2 separate regions of the Homo sapiens genome follow, and region 1 is linked to region 2. Evidence: promoter capture Hi-C in 16 types of primary human blood cells and fetal thymus (Javierre and others, 2016). All regions are on one chromosome and are shown on one strand. The core of a region is centred on a gene start or on the middle of the fragment in contact, and the rest is flanking DNA. Distances in the headings are between cores, read along the strand shown. Region 1 has its middle 23 kb from the start of CCNA1. Region 2 holds the start of SMAD9 (SMAD family member 9).

Region 1 (5,894 bases), core at 1,393-3,892, 510 kb after region 2:
GCGGAATTGGGTTCTATCTTTTTATAGGAGTAGTGTCAAAGAATTTGTAGGCGTGGTTAAAACCACCATGCCATGTTGATATAGTTTGGTTCTGTGTCCCCACCCAAATCTCAGCTCAAATTGTAATTCCCATAATCCCCACATGTTGAGGGAGGGTCCTGGTGGGAGATGATTGGATCATAGGGTGATTTCCCCCATGTTGTTTTCATGATAGCAAGTGAATTCTCACGAGATCTAATGGCTTTATAAATGGCAGTTTTCCCTCCTCTCCTCCTTCCTGCTGCCTTGTGAAGAAGGTGCCTGCTTTCCCTTCACCTTCTGCAACAATTCTAAATTTTCTGAGGCCTCCCCAGCCATGCAGAACTTCAAGTCAATTAAACCTCTTTCCTTTATAAATTACCCAGTCTCAGGCATTTCTTTATAGCAGTGTGTAAATGGTTAAACATGAATATGGTAAATACCTTAAAGATTTTCTGTGGCTTCAATGATTGAAAAACTTTACCCTAAAGAACAATAATACCAAAGACAAAACTACAACAAAATGTGAGTAACTGTTAAGCCAAAATATAGACCAGGTTATTTGAAGAATGTTGTTTGTTTTTGTGTTTTACCAAATTAGTCCTCAGAGAAAAAGAGTTACTTAACGCTATAGACTAAATGTTTATGTCCCCTCAAATTCATATGTCGAAATCCTAACTTCCAAGGTGATGGCATTAGGAGACTGAGTCTTTAGGAGTTGATTAGGTCATGAGGGAGGAAACCTCATGAATGGGACTAGCGTCTTCATAAAAGAGACCCCAGAGATCTCCCTCTCCCCTTCTGCTCTGTGAAGACACAATGAGAAGACTGCCACTATGAATAAGGAAGCGGGTCCTCACCAGACACTGAATCTACAGGCACCTTGATATTGGAGTTCCCAATTTCCAGAACTATGAGAAATAAATATTTGTTGTTTATAAGGTACTCACTCTATGGTATTCTGCTGTGGCAGCCCAAATGAACTAAGACACTTAATATCCAAGCCCTCTCCAAGATTCTTGTTTGATGGAAGTATTCTTCCAATTATTCTATTTTAATTACAAATTATTTAGGAAAGACAAATTAGCCTGAAAAGATGTCAATTAGAGCTATATGGGGAATCTTAAAAGGTCATCTAACTGAGCTAATAAAAAGACAAAGCCTTTTAGTACAGATTTGGTAATTATTCTTCCAGGTAGGACCTTCAAATTGTAGTGCTGGGATATGGATATAAACAAGATTACTAAGATCAGTTTTTCATAAAGCAACTCACCTTTGCTTTGTGGAGATAACAAATGTAAGTCTCATAGGACAATGAAAAACAATTGTTCTACTGTTTCACAATTGGCTACTTTGTTTTGGAATAAAACTTACAATTATAGTATCATATGCCAATCCAAAGGTATTTTATCTTAAAAGTTGTTTTATCTCAAGATACTTAAAATTGGAAAAAATTAGATGGCTCAAACAGTGGCTCTTCTGATAATGAAGACTCTTGTCTTCAAGAATTTGAAGAAAATTTGAGTAAAATTATTTCTGAAATGAGAAGAAATATTTCAAAATTGGCACATTTTTATAATATTATTTCAAATATAATTGTATAAGCAGATTCATATTAACTAGCTCAAGTAAACATTGACTATTTTGTTAACATCCATTGTGTTCATATATTCATGTTGACCAAAAAGCTTTTTGTATTTTTCCATTATGAAAACAGAGAGCCACCTCATATTTAGGGTTGCCTTTTAATCAGCATATATATTATTTTAAAAGCTTAGCTTTCAGTAATTATCCTTCAGTTCAAATCTATGAATAACATAGTCTGTGTTTTTACTAAATTGGTTTCTTTTCCCTTTGTATTATTGTGTGATAACTAATACAGTAATACAGATTTTCATGGAGCAGACGCATTATCAATGTGATTAATTTCTGAATACAAGCAACCAAACACAGTACCATATACACAAAGGCCCATTTAACAAAGATTTCACTGAAGTAATTCAGTGAGTCTTACTTAATGTGTATCACAAAGAAATGATGGGATTATTGGCAGAGAAAGCTTTCTTCTCAATCTGTGGGGTGGTGTGAGCCAGGAGAGTGCATGCTAGAAGGCCATGGTCAGAACTGCTACCTGGAAAGGTCCAGATCCGCACATGGACTTCTGTTGGAAAAGAACTACAGCTCACTCACCTGTGCAAACTCAGGTCACACCATAAGCTCTCTGTGTACATTAGCATTTTTACCCTGAATTAGATTATTATTCTTTTTATACATTTTAATTAAAATATTGTTATATCTCTATCATAATGAAACTAAGGAAAATACAGTTTCTTTTCTTTTTCAACGTAATGTTAACATTTAAAAGAAAAATTTGTATTTTGGCTCATAGGCAGTGACTATGTCTACATATTTCATTTGTCCAATTCCTTTTTTTTTTTTTTGAGATGGAGTCTCACTCTGTCACCCAGGCTGGAGTGTAGTGATATTATTTTGGCTCACTGAAACCTCCACTTTCCAGATTCAAGCAATTCTCCTGCCTCAGCCTCCCGAATAGCTGGGATTATAGGCGTGCACTACCACACCCAGCTAATTTTCTTTTTTGTATTTTTAGTAGAGACAGGGTTTCACCATGTTGGCCAGGCTGGTATCAAACTCCTGACCTCAGGTAATCCTCCTTCCTTGGTCTCCCAAAGTGCTGGGATTACAGGCATGAGCCACTGCACCCAGACAATTTGTCCAATTCTTGGTTTCTTGTTTCCCAGAACAATCATAAATGCACTATTATTCTACTTCTGACACTTTTTCCACAGTGTTCAAAGTATTAGGAATAGCAGATGGTCAACAGCTTTCTGTGGACTGACAAAAGCAATTACTTATTTCTGAAAACAAAGGGAAGTATGTTTTCTATTTTCACTAAATGTGACTGGTGACTTACTAATTAAGTTTCACTTAGAACACATTATACAATAACTTATTACTCAAAATAAGTAGACATAATTATTCCTCTTTGAAATGAAGAATTAAAAAGAAATTGAATAACTGTCCTGAATGAGGATGACTTTTTAAAAGGCCAGACTAAGATCTCTTTAGAATGGGTCTCCTTCCCCTATGAAATTAGGAACATGAAATAGTATTATTTAATTTGGGCAATTAAATAATGTTTCAGGATTAATTAGATATGAAGCTTAGTCTTCTGAGCTATCCTGATTCTTATAATATTCTACTGATACCATTTGTTGAAATATGTCACCCACTTTGACTCTCGTTGTTCTCACTGATAGATTCAGTGCTGACAGCACTATTTAATTCTGCATTATTACTCAACTGTGTCTAAGGGTTATAAGACCTTTGTGGAACTTATATATTTATCCTTCAAGCTCTGGGTAGCTGAATCTTTACCTTATGGGAACATGCACTCTTCAATAATGAAAATATTTAAATGGTGATTAAAGTTTAATAAAACTGCCAAGTCAATGAGATGAATGTCTTTAGAGATAATTTCCCGTGCCAGATTTTAGAAGTGATATAAAATTTATTTTCACATATTTATCTGCAAAGCCTTTTCAGATCCACTTACATTAAGGAGATACCATGGAAACTCCAAGAAAAATAGTTTCCAATATTTGGAGGCTTCAGGGATTTTGTTGTTATTTGCTGCTGGGGCAAAGAAAAGCATTCTGGAAAAGGTACCAAGTTACAAAAAGTAATATATTATCTAAATTTGCTTTGGAAAGAAAATAAAAAGGTTATATGGTGCTGTTTTGATTATTATTTCTCTTAATTATATGGTCTTCTGGAATTCCAAAGCCAGATTATAAACAGAAAGGGTAGCTGATAAAACACATGTATTTGGGATAAACCACTGCTCAAAAATAAAGCTGATAGTATCTCTCTCACTTCTGTTTTTAACAATGATTAGATTAATGTGCTTGTTATTGAATTTAACAAAAAACATCATGGTTACCTACTAAATATTCAGAATAAGGGATACAAGATGGCTAAGATAGTCTGCCTCTGGCAATAGAGCATTCACGTTTTGGTTTTTGTTTTGTTTTTAAACTCTCCCGAAACCAAACACTTAGACACCAGATAAATTTCACAAAAGTCATTTTAAGCCTGTAGCAGGGATCATACAAGGGTAAGAGAATACCTAGTGATGTTACATGAAGACGGGATTAAAGAGCTAGTCTAGCTCTGAAGCCTCCACTGACCTCAAGGTATTTGATCAGCAAAAGCTAGAGCTTTGTTTCTTTAATTCTTCTTCTTCTTCTTCCTCTTCTTCTTCTTCTTCTTCTTCTTCTTCTTCTTCTTCTTCTTCTTCTTCTTCTTCTTCCTCTCCTTCTCCTTCTCCTTCTTCTTCTTCTACCTCTTCTTCCTCTTCTTTCTTCTTCTTCTCCTCCTCCTTCTTATTCCTCTTCTTCTTCTTCCTCTTCTTTTTCTTCCTCTTCTTCTTCTTCCTCTTCTTCTTCCCCTTCCCCTCCTTCTCCTTCTCCTCCTTCTTCTTCTTCTGAACTGATTTATCACTAAGCACCCTGAAAGTCAACATTTGTTTCACTTTTCATGTTTATAGACAAGGAGAGCTTTTCTCCCTGATATTAGGATCCCCCCCCACTCCCCCAGGGGTTCTACATACTCTCAAGTGCAGAAGCTGGCTCATGGGACTCTGCCCATAGCTTCCCTCTGGACCCATAAGGATGAGTTAGTGGTTCCCCAAAATAAGTCTAAACAAGATATTCCTGGGAGATTTTTTTGGGTACATCTACTGCTAGACTCTGTCATGGAAACGGATGGAGAACTTCTAGAGAGAGCTATAAATATTTAACAAAATATTTACATAGAAAGTAGCCAGTTTTCTTCTACTTAATAGCGATCTTCAAAAATAAGTGCTGCCATCTAAAAAGTGACATACCATTCACCAAACTACTGAAAAGAACTGAATTTGTATGAAAAATTACAAATTAAGGTATGAGATGTGGGTTGTGCTAAATGGCTTTTAAGGGATAATCATCTCTTTTAGTCTAATTCTTTTTCAAGGAAGATATGTGTTGGCCAAACATGGCTTAAACTAACAGTTCTGCTGTGGACTAATTTCATTGTGTTAATAGATGTTCATACTCATGCATCAGAGCCAAATTCCTTTAACAATACACAAGAAGATAAATTTTTTAGGGTGCTAACCCTTTAAGCAATGTTATTTATTAGTAAGGATAAAACCGTATGATTTTTCTTATGGCTATCATATCCATATTATCCTAAAATACACCTCTTCCCAATTACTTTTATCACACATGAAATTGTTTTTATTTTTGTTCTTTACCCGAAAGTGCTAAGAAAATACAACCTGACTTCATGTGGTTTTAAAATCACAACTCCTGATTTATTTGTATATTTAATAGAAAATTGTCCAGGAGTTATTCCACTGTCAAAGACTTTAGTTCCTTTTAGTGATATGGCACGCACTGAAAAACTATTCCTACACAAAAACACCTCAAATACAGTAAAAAGAGCCTTGGATTTTAATGACTGTTCTGGAGCAAAAAGGAAAGACCTTTGGCCTGAACAAAGCTGAGTTAGATTCCAGGCCCCAAAACACATTAGTACACTCGAAGGACTATACTCTTTTGCTCTGGGTAGAAAAGAAAAATAAAAACTGAAAACTCTCACCTGAGAATCTTTATTTATTTATTTATTTATTTAGAGACAGAGTCTTACTCTGTTGCCCAGGCTGGAGTGCAGTGGTACAATCTCTGCTCACTGCAACCTCCACCTCTGGGGTTCAAGCAATTCTCCTGCCTCAGCCCCCTGAGTAGCTGGGATTACAGGCATGTGCCACCGCGCCTGGCTAATTTTTGTATTTTTAGTAGAGACAAGGTTTC
Region 2 (6,745 bases), core at 1,445-3,944:
ACACATTGAAACCACTGTCTGATTAAGAAACTTCCACAACTTGTCTCAATTCTTCAAATAATGGAGTAAGTTTCTTTTCTAGGCTGACAATTAGTTCTGTATTGGCATTGCTGCTGGCTATGAAACTCACCACCAAAGGTAAATGATTTAACTGAATCACCAGGTAGGTGTAACAGTAACAGATGATACTTTTATTTTTTGAAAGTCCAAGTTTGCTCCCGTGGTCTGTTGCAAGGGCAAAAGTAGGTAAGAAACCAGGTCTCAAAGCATGCTCTGGAGCATTATCAATGGCCACTTTAATAACAGGTACTCCAACTCTGACACAACAATAGCATGGAGCCCTTCAACACTTTGTAACATTTGATACATGAATCGCTTTAGGTCATCCGCCATGATGAACCCCCTTCTCTTGCAGGATCAATCTCCTTGCCTGGGGTTTCTGGGCTGCCCGGTTCTCTCCACTGTCACTTCAGGAACAGCTTCAAAGACCACAGTCTGGTTTTATGCTGGGTATATGGCAAATGCAAAGAATTGGCTCTCTCTTGGGGTAAGGAAGCTGCCCTTCCTACCACTGTTTTATAGCCTGAGGGAGTTCGTGTTAGGCCAAGACCTTATCATCTTTCAGAAAACAGATTTCAGTTTTGCCGTGGTTTTGAGGTCCTGAACCAAAATTTCACTGGCGGTTCTACCAAATCACAACCTCTGAGTCTCTCCTTTCATATGATTCCCATAACAGAATGTTTTGGTGGAAGTTCTATTAAGCAGTAAAACCACAGCCAATCAAGAAATCACTGGGAAAGATAAAGCGAAGTCTAGCTTTCCATTAACCAGGACAGTCAGCTTCTGTAAAATGGAGTGTCAACACTGCGCCTTCTGTCTTAGGCCAAGCATTTTCTCCTTCTTGGAACTCACCAGATCTTATTGTTCTTGAGCGTAATGGATTAACTTTCTATACTAGCCTTGAGGAATACATGATAGGAATTATATCAGTGACAGACTAATGTTTAGGCAGGAAAAAGTCATCATCGTGCAGAAATATCCTGGTATGTAAATGAGAACGTACAGAAAAGAGCAGACTAGACATACTCTAAATCAAAGGCCTGCCAAGAGTCAAGAGAATTCTGCGAACTGAGAAAGACTCCATGCCAGAAGCATGAGCCAGCGCTGCAGAGGTTATAATTTCTTTCTCTGCATCTTGTCCTCTGCATTATGCTCATATACGAGAAGGAAACTGAGATAGTGATTGGGCCATTTCTTTTCTTAATTTAATTTTTAAAAACTTGAGCCACAAGGTATCAATTCTGAGGACCTAATTAGTTTACTGGCAATAAAGTCCACATCCAGCCTAATCCTTAATATATAATCTGTAGCCCTTACCGGTCCCGCTGTTTCCTGGTGTTTCTCACCCAGGACAATCTCAAACCCAACACATAGCCGGGTGCAGAGGTATCTGGGCCAGTGTAGAAAGAAGACTTTGAGGTTAAGGCATGGTATTTAAGGTTCTGCTGCAAATGTTGTTTTAAACAAATCACCGTTCAACTACAACGGTATAATAATGCAAAAATAGCATCTGCCATGAAGAAAGTGCAGTGCTTTGAGAACTAGAAAAAGCAGTTAAATTTAAGGCCTTGCTTTACATTTCGGAGCCGCCATCGGGGCCAACTGGAGGTATGACTTTCCTGCACACAGGAGCAAGCTGAAAACTGCCCTGTGGCTTTATTCCACGTTCACCCCTGCAGCAAATGCCTTTTCTGTGAGGAACTACGGGCTGATGGGGAATCAGAGGTGGTTCTTCCTAAGTGGCGTTTCTGAGTGGGTTCCAGGAGTCCACAGTGACTTTAAGAGGCAGGCTACCTGGGGGACAGCCAGGCCGTGAGACGAGAAAGTTGTACAGTAACATTGCTGTGTGCCCATAAGTTTGTATCTTTTATTAGATTAGATAATATATCTCACATGCTGGGTTGTTAAGCAAATAAATATGTGTAAGGAAATTACAATCCACATAATTACATGAGTCGTTTTAACCACCACTCACCCCCAGAGTGATTAGATTTTCTTCTGCCTATGCCATTGCGGCCCAGTTGCTCTGTCACTGTCCATGGGGACAGGATCCCCTTACTCCGAAAAGCAAATCAGGAACAAACAGGGCAAGTGAGAGTCACTATCAGGGCCCAGAAACATGTGAGGAACAGCAGCTCAGAAGGGTCTCCAGACTGATGGGCCGGTGATCCTATATTCTTGTTGGGCTGACAACTCTTCTGGTTTCGGGCTCCAGGTGCTGGCAAGAAATCTCAGAGGTGGGGTGGGAGAGAGAGACGCGAGGCGACCCACGCAGACAAAGGGCTCCCACCCCACCCCCGGGCCACCCCGGCAGGCCGGGCAGGGGCCGAGCCTGGGGTCGCGCAGGGGGACCGAGAGGGCAGCGCGGGGCTGGGGGTGGGGAAGAGGCGGGAACCGAGCCGCAGGCCGCTGCGAGGAGTACTACCCCGCCACCCCCGCGCCGCGAGTTTCCGCGCACGTGGCCGTGGGGCCGGTCTCGCTCCCGCCCCCCGCCGGGCCCGCGCAGCCCCCTCCTCTGCGGCTCCCGGAGCGGCCAGAGCGCGCGGCGGCGGGCGGGGGCGGGCCGCAAGCAGGGCTCCCTGGCCGCTTTCCAGGTCGGCGCACTAATACGGGCGATGAGGCTTCGCGGCTCCAGTCTGACTGACGCCGGCTGGGGCCGCCGCCGCCGCCGCCGCCGCCGCCGCTGCTGCAGCCGCTGTCTCGGTCCCCGCCGCCGCCGCCGGGCCCTGCAGGCGCTGGGCGCGCGCAGCCAGGCAGTGAGTGCGCGGCGCTCGGAGCGGGCGGCCGGGGGACCACGGCGGGGGCGGGGTTGGGGGCGCCGGACCTGGGTGGGGGAGGGATGAGTGGCACGGCGGGGACAGGTAAGACGTGCCCTCCTCGGCCGCGCGCTGCTTGTGTGCGTGCGTGTGAGCGCATTGAGTGGAGGGCGAAGTTGTTCGTCCTCGGGGCAGCCTGGGAGGCTCCTCGGCGTGAGGCTTGGCTTTTGGCGGTCGTTGTTCCCGGGTTTTTTGGTGGAGCCTGTCTGGGGTGGAGTGGGGTGGGGTGGGGTGGGCGCGGGGCCGGAGGGGACTGCTCTGGGGAGTTGGCCGCGGCGCAGCTCGCCTTCCTCGCGCCTGCATCCGCCCGCGCCGCGGGCCCCGGGACCTGTCAGGGGATGTTCGACCCGCGGCGGGGGCGGCGGTCGGGTCGGGGCTGGGGCCCGGGGCGTGGGCAGGGACCAGGATAGGCGCCTGAGGGGTCGCTTGCTGTAGCTGGAGATAGGGGACAGCGGACAGAGGGGGCGGCGGGGGTCGTCATTGTGACTCTTTGGGGGCCACTTTTAAACTCGCCAGCGCCGAATTGGCCTCACTTGCCTTCTGTTTCGTAGGCTTTTTGCTTTGTTTACCTTTGAGGCATGCGAACTGAGAAAAAAAGTTAGGAATGTTGTTGAAGTGTCTCCGGGCTCGCGCTTGGACTGTGTCGGAGCCGGGGTGTTTGTCTTTTCCTTGGCCCGCCCCTCGGTGCCAGCTCTCCGCAGAGGGGAGGGGGCGAGGTGGGAAGCAGATACAGGAGACTGCCTGACGCCAGCTTTGTGATCGGAAGGAGGAGCGCTGGGAGAACATTTTTATGGATGGCTAATCGCTGACAAGTTTTCCCGTTACTATTCCTTCCTCCTCCTGCCCTTGACCGTGGACATTTGAAGTGATAGTTTGGAAATACTACGTTGACTTATTTCTGGGCTGGAGTGGGTACTCCTGAGAACTAACCTACAAAGGATACAAATCGAGTTTGGAGATAAAATTGTATGTAAATTCTTTACCCAGTAGTTTACAGTGAGAAACACACCCACAGGGCACTGTGGAGTGCTTTGGATGGATCCAGTTTACTAGTACCATTTCGGTGGCTTGCCAGATTTCTCGGATGATCTTTTGGAAATGTAGGTTAGCAAGAAGCATGGAGGCTGACCGTTAAGTCGTGAGGCATTTAATAATGCTGCCTCCTAAGCAGTAACTGAGCGGAACGTTTGTGGCACCCGTCTGGGAAAGTGAAATGTGACTACTACAAGCATGTCTCCTGCCTTAGCATTCCTCCAAGTGTGAGGGAATGCCTTTGGATGTTTACATTTTAAAAATAGTGATCTATATTTAAGAAGGCATTTAAAATAAAAGCCAAAGACATTCTCAACTCCAAATAGACAAAGATTCAATATAAGAGTTTCCCTGTGCTTGTAGGAAAGCATCAGCACAATTTTAGACTGCTTTTAGGTTTGTGGTTATCCAAGAAGGAGGCTTCAGATAAGAAAAGGATGTGACGCTTTATAAATAAGGAGCATTTTAAATACAAGATGACAGCAATTTCAAGTACTGTATCCGAAAAACAACTTTTAGTGGTAATAGTCACCTTCAGTGATGGCAAGACAGCTGTCTGCCAGACAGCCTTCGGCCTCTTAATGTATTCTGACACAACCAACTCCCATTTTTATGCTTGACTGGTTATCTTTGTCAGAGCTGTTTTATGCTTGAGCTCTCTGGTTTCAAACTATGCTTAAGAGAATGCCAACATACTCTTGATCTGAACAAACTCATGTTTATCAGTGCAGTGTTTACTAAAAATCAAAGACGTAAACAAATTTTGGGTTAAACCTCTAAGTACTTTAGAATTGCCACATCATTGTCATCAGTCTTTCAAAGTCAACATGAACTATTTGGCTTTTCTCCTTTAAAAAATTTTTTTAACTTATATATTCCTAGTTAGTAAGTAATCAGAAAATATTCACAGATGTCAACTCTTGCATCTGTGATTGCCCAAGACATGGATGAGAAAGAAGAGTTTTGTTTTGTTTTTTAAATGAAACATTACTAAAGATATCCATAAGTAATAAACAAGTGGTACACTATCTTTACTAATCATGTGGTCAGTTGGAGGGAAAAAAGTCTGTCCAGAAATTGTTTCATAAAGATGAAAATATTCAATGTCAATATGAAAATACTCAATATGTTTTCCAAATAGTTTAATTCTGATTAATGAGAGTGCACTATGCATTGCCAAACTGGAGGGATGGTGTTTCGTAAGTGAGCACCGTAGGATTAAGGTAACTACTTTATATCTGACATTCCCTCTGTAATAAATAGGACAGCAGTTTCATCATGTTCTGCTTTAATATGTGGGAAATAATCCTTATCCACAGGATGTACTCTGATTTTAGGGAAGGTAAAGGTTATGACAAATATGTGGTTTTTCTGATTTGCCAGACATACTATGCTAAATTTTAAAGCTTTAACGAAGCTTAGTGCAGACTTTCTGTATATTGTTTTGGACACTTAGAGAGGAGTTAAAGAAACGGGAAACTGTCCAGAATGAAACAGTAAATATAGCAGTACGTTGAAACCATGAATCTTCTCAAATAGTTGTAATTCTAGGCTGTTGGATTTATATTTCCTTGGTTACTGTTGCTAGTGGGTTGAAAAGTTATTCTAAAGCAAAAAAAAAAAATGCAAACAGTAAATGCATAAGTACTTAACAATACTGTGAGCATTTTCACAATGTTTCATGTTATCCTGGTGAATGTCCATGTCCTAAGTAAGGACATTAAAAAAATAAACAATTATCCCTTGGTAATAAACTAACCTTTTAAAATAAATATTCCGGTAAATTTTGTCTCTTAAGAAACTTGTGTCAACTAAAGTTGTTAGGATTTCAAGATATCTGTTAGCATTAGGAGTCATTATACCCATGAAAACTGGATGTTCTTCTTGCTTGGTGGTCTTCATCCTGACACTTCCTACCCCAAAACCATGACGGACACCTCGGCCGCACTTGCCTGACTTGTATTCTGCTCTCCTTTGGTGTCGGCTTCCTTTTGTGTTAGGCTGACCCAAGACCACTTTTCCAGGCTTATCTTCCCGGTCTTTCCCTATTTTATGCTGCAGTTAAAATAGCAAATGCTAGTTTCCATGCATACCCTGGCTTTCCTCTCCTGTGCACCTTTACCCCACGCTGAGGCCTTCCCAGCTTCCCCACCTCCCACAGGATCCTCAAATATGACTTCTTCATCTTGTATGCCCTGTTCAGGCGCTGCCTTCACGGGACTTTCTGTGATGACCCTGGTCCCAGGTATGTCCTCCTTCGAGCTCCTGTGGCTCTTCGCCTTTTCAACTCTTACCTGTTTTGTATTAAGTTACTCATAGACTAATTTATTTCTTCCCCTCAGACCATCCTTACAAGATCCAGGAAGGAAGGGACTGTTTCATCTACCTTTTTTATTCTCTGAATGCTGACCACAGTGCCCTTTATAGTACTCTATCAATAAATAACAAATACATGACACATTTTTTCACTGAACCCATGGTCCCTCCTGAAATAAAGTCTGTAAAAGCATTTCACCCATAGGATAAAGTCCATCTTTCAAGAAGCTGGTGTTGAATCTGAGCTGAGGACTAGTTCAGAGGCCTGAAATCCCCTCAGCCCAGTTGAGAGCCTCCTTCTCCTGAACATTGTGGCTGAGCATTACAGTCAGGAAAAGCTTCTATGATACTCTTATTGCATTAGCAGTTTTCCATATCAGATTCACTAAATACACAATGGAAGCCATTTAGTAGAAAAACAGATTTTAATGTGATACGGCTACCACAATGAAACACTAATGTGATTCCACAGAAAATTGCTAACACGATATGCTGATTCCTCCCCCCACCATAGCCGCATA

Evidence for each region. The method cuts DNA at HindIII sites, captures the fragments that hold promoters and counts their contacts. A CHiCAGO score of 5 or more calls a contact.
Region 1: a contact is called between a fragment that was not itself captured here and the fragment with the promoter of SMAD9 in region 2, in 1 of 17 cell types (total B cells). The highest score is 5.1, in total B cells.

The regions. Positions count from the first base shown.
Region 1 is chr13:36,406,809-36,412,702 of GRCh38, reverse strand. No RefSeq gene overlaps it. Among named protein-coding and RNA genes, the nearest start is that of CCNA1, 23 kb to the left of the region's middle. The HindIII fragment of the contact is 1,125 bases long and covers 2,080-3,204 here.
Region 2 is chr13:36,916,187-36,922,931 of GRCh38, reverse strand. It overlaps SMAD9 (SMAD family member 9), which reads left to right and starts at 2,694. Exons shown (of 7, transcript NM_001127217.3): 1 at 2,694-2,816. It also overlaps the pseudogene LAMTOR3P1. RefSeq lists silencers at 2,554-2,603, 2,714-2,783. The HindIII fragment of the contact is 8,984 bases long and covers 1-5,316 here.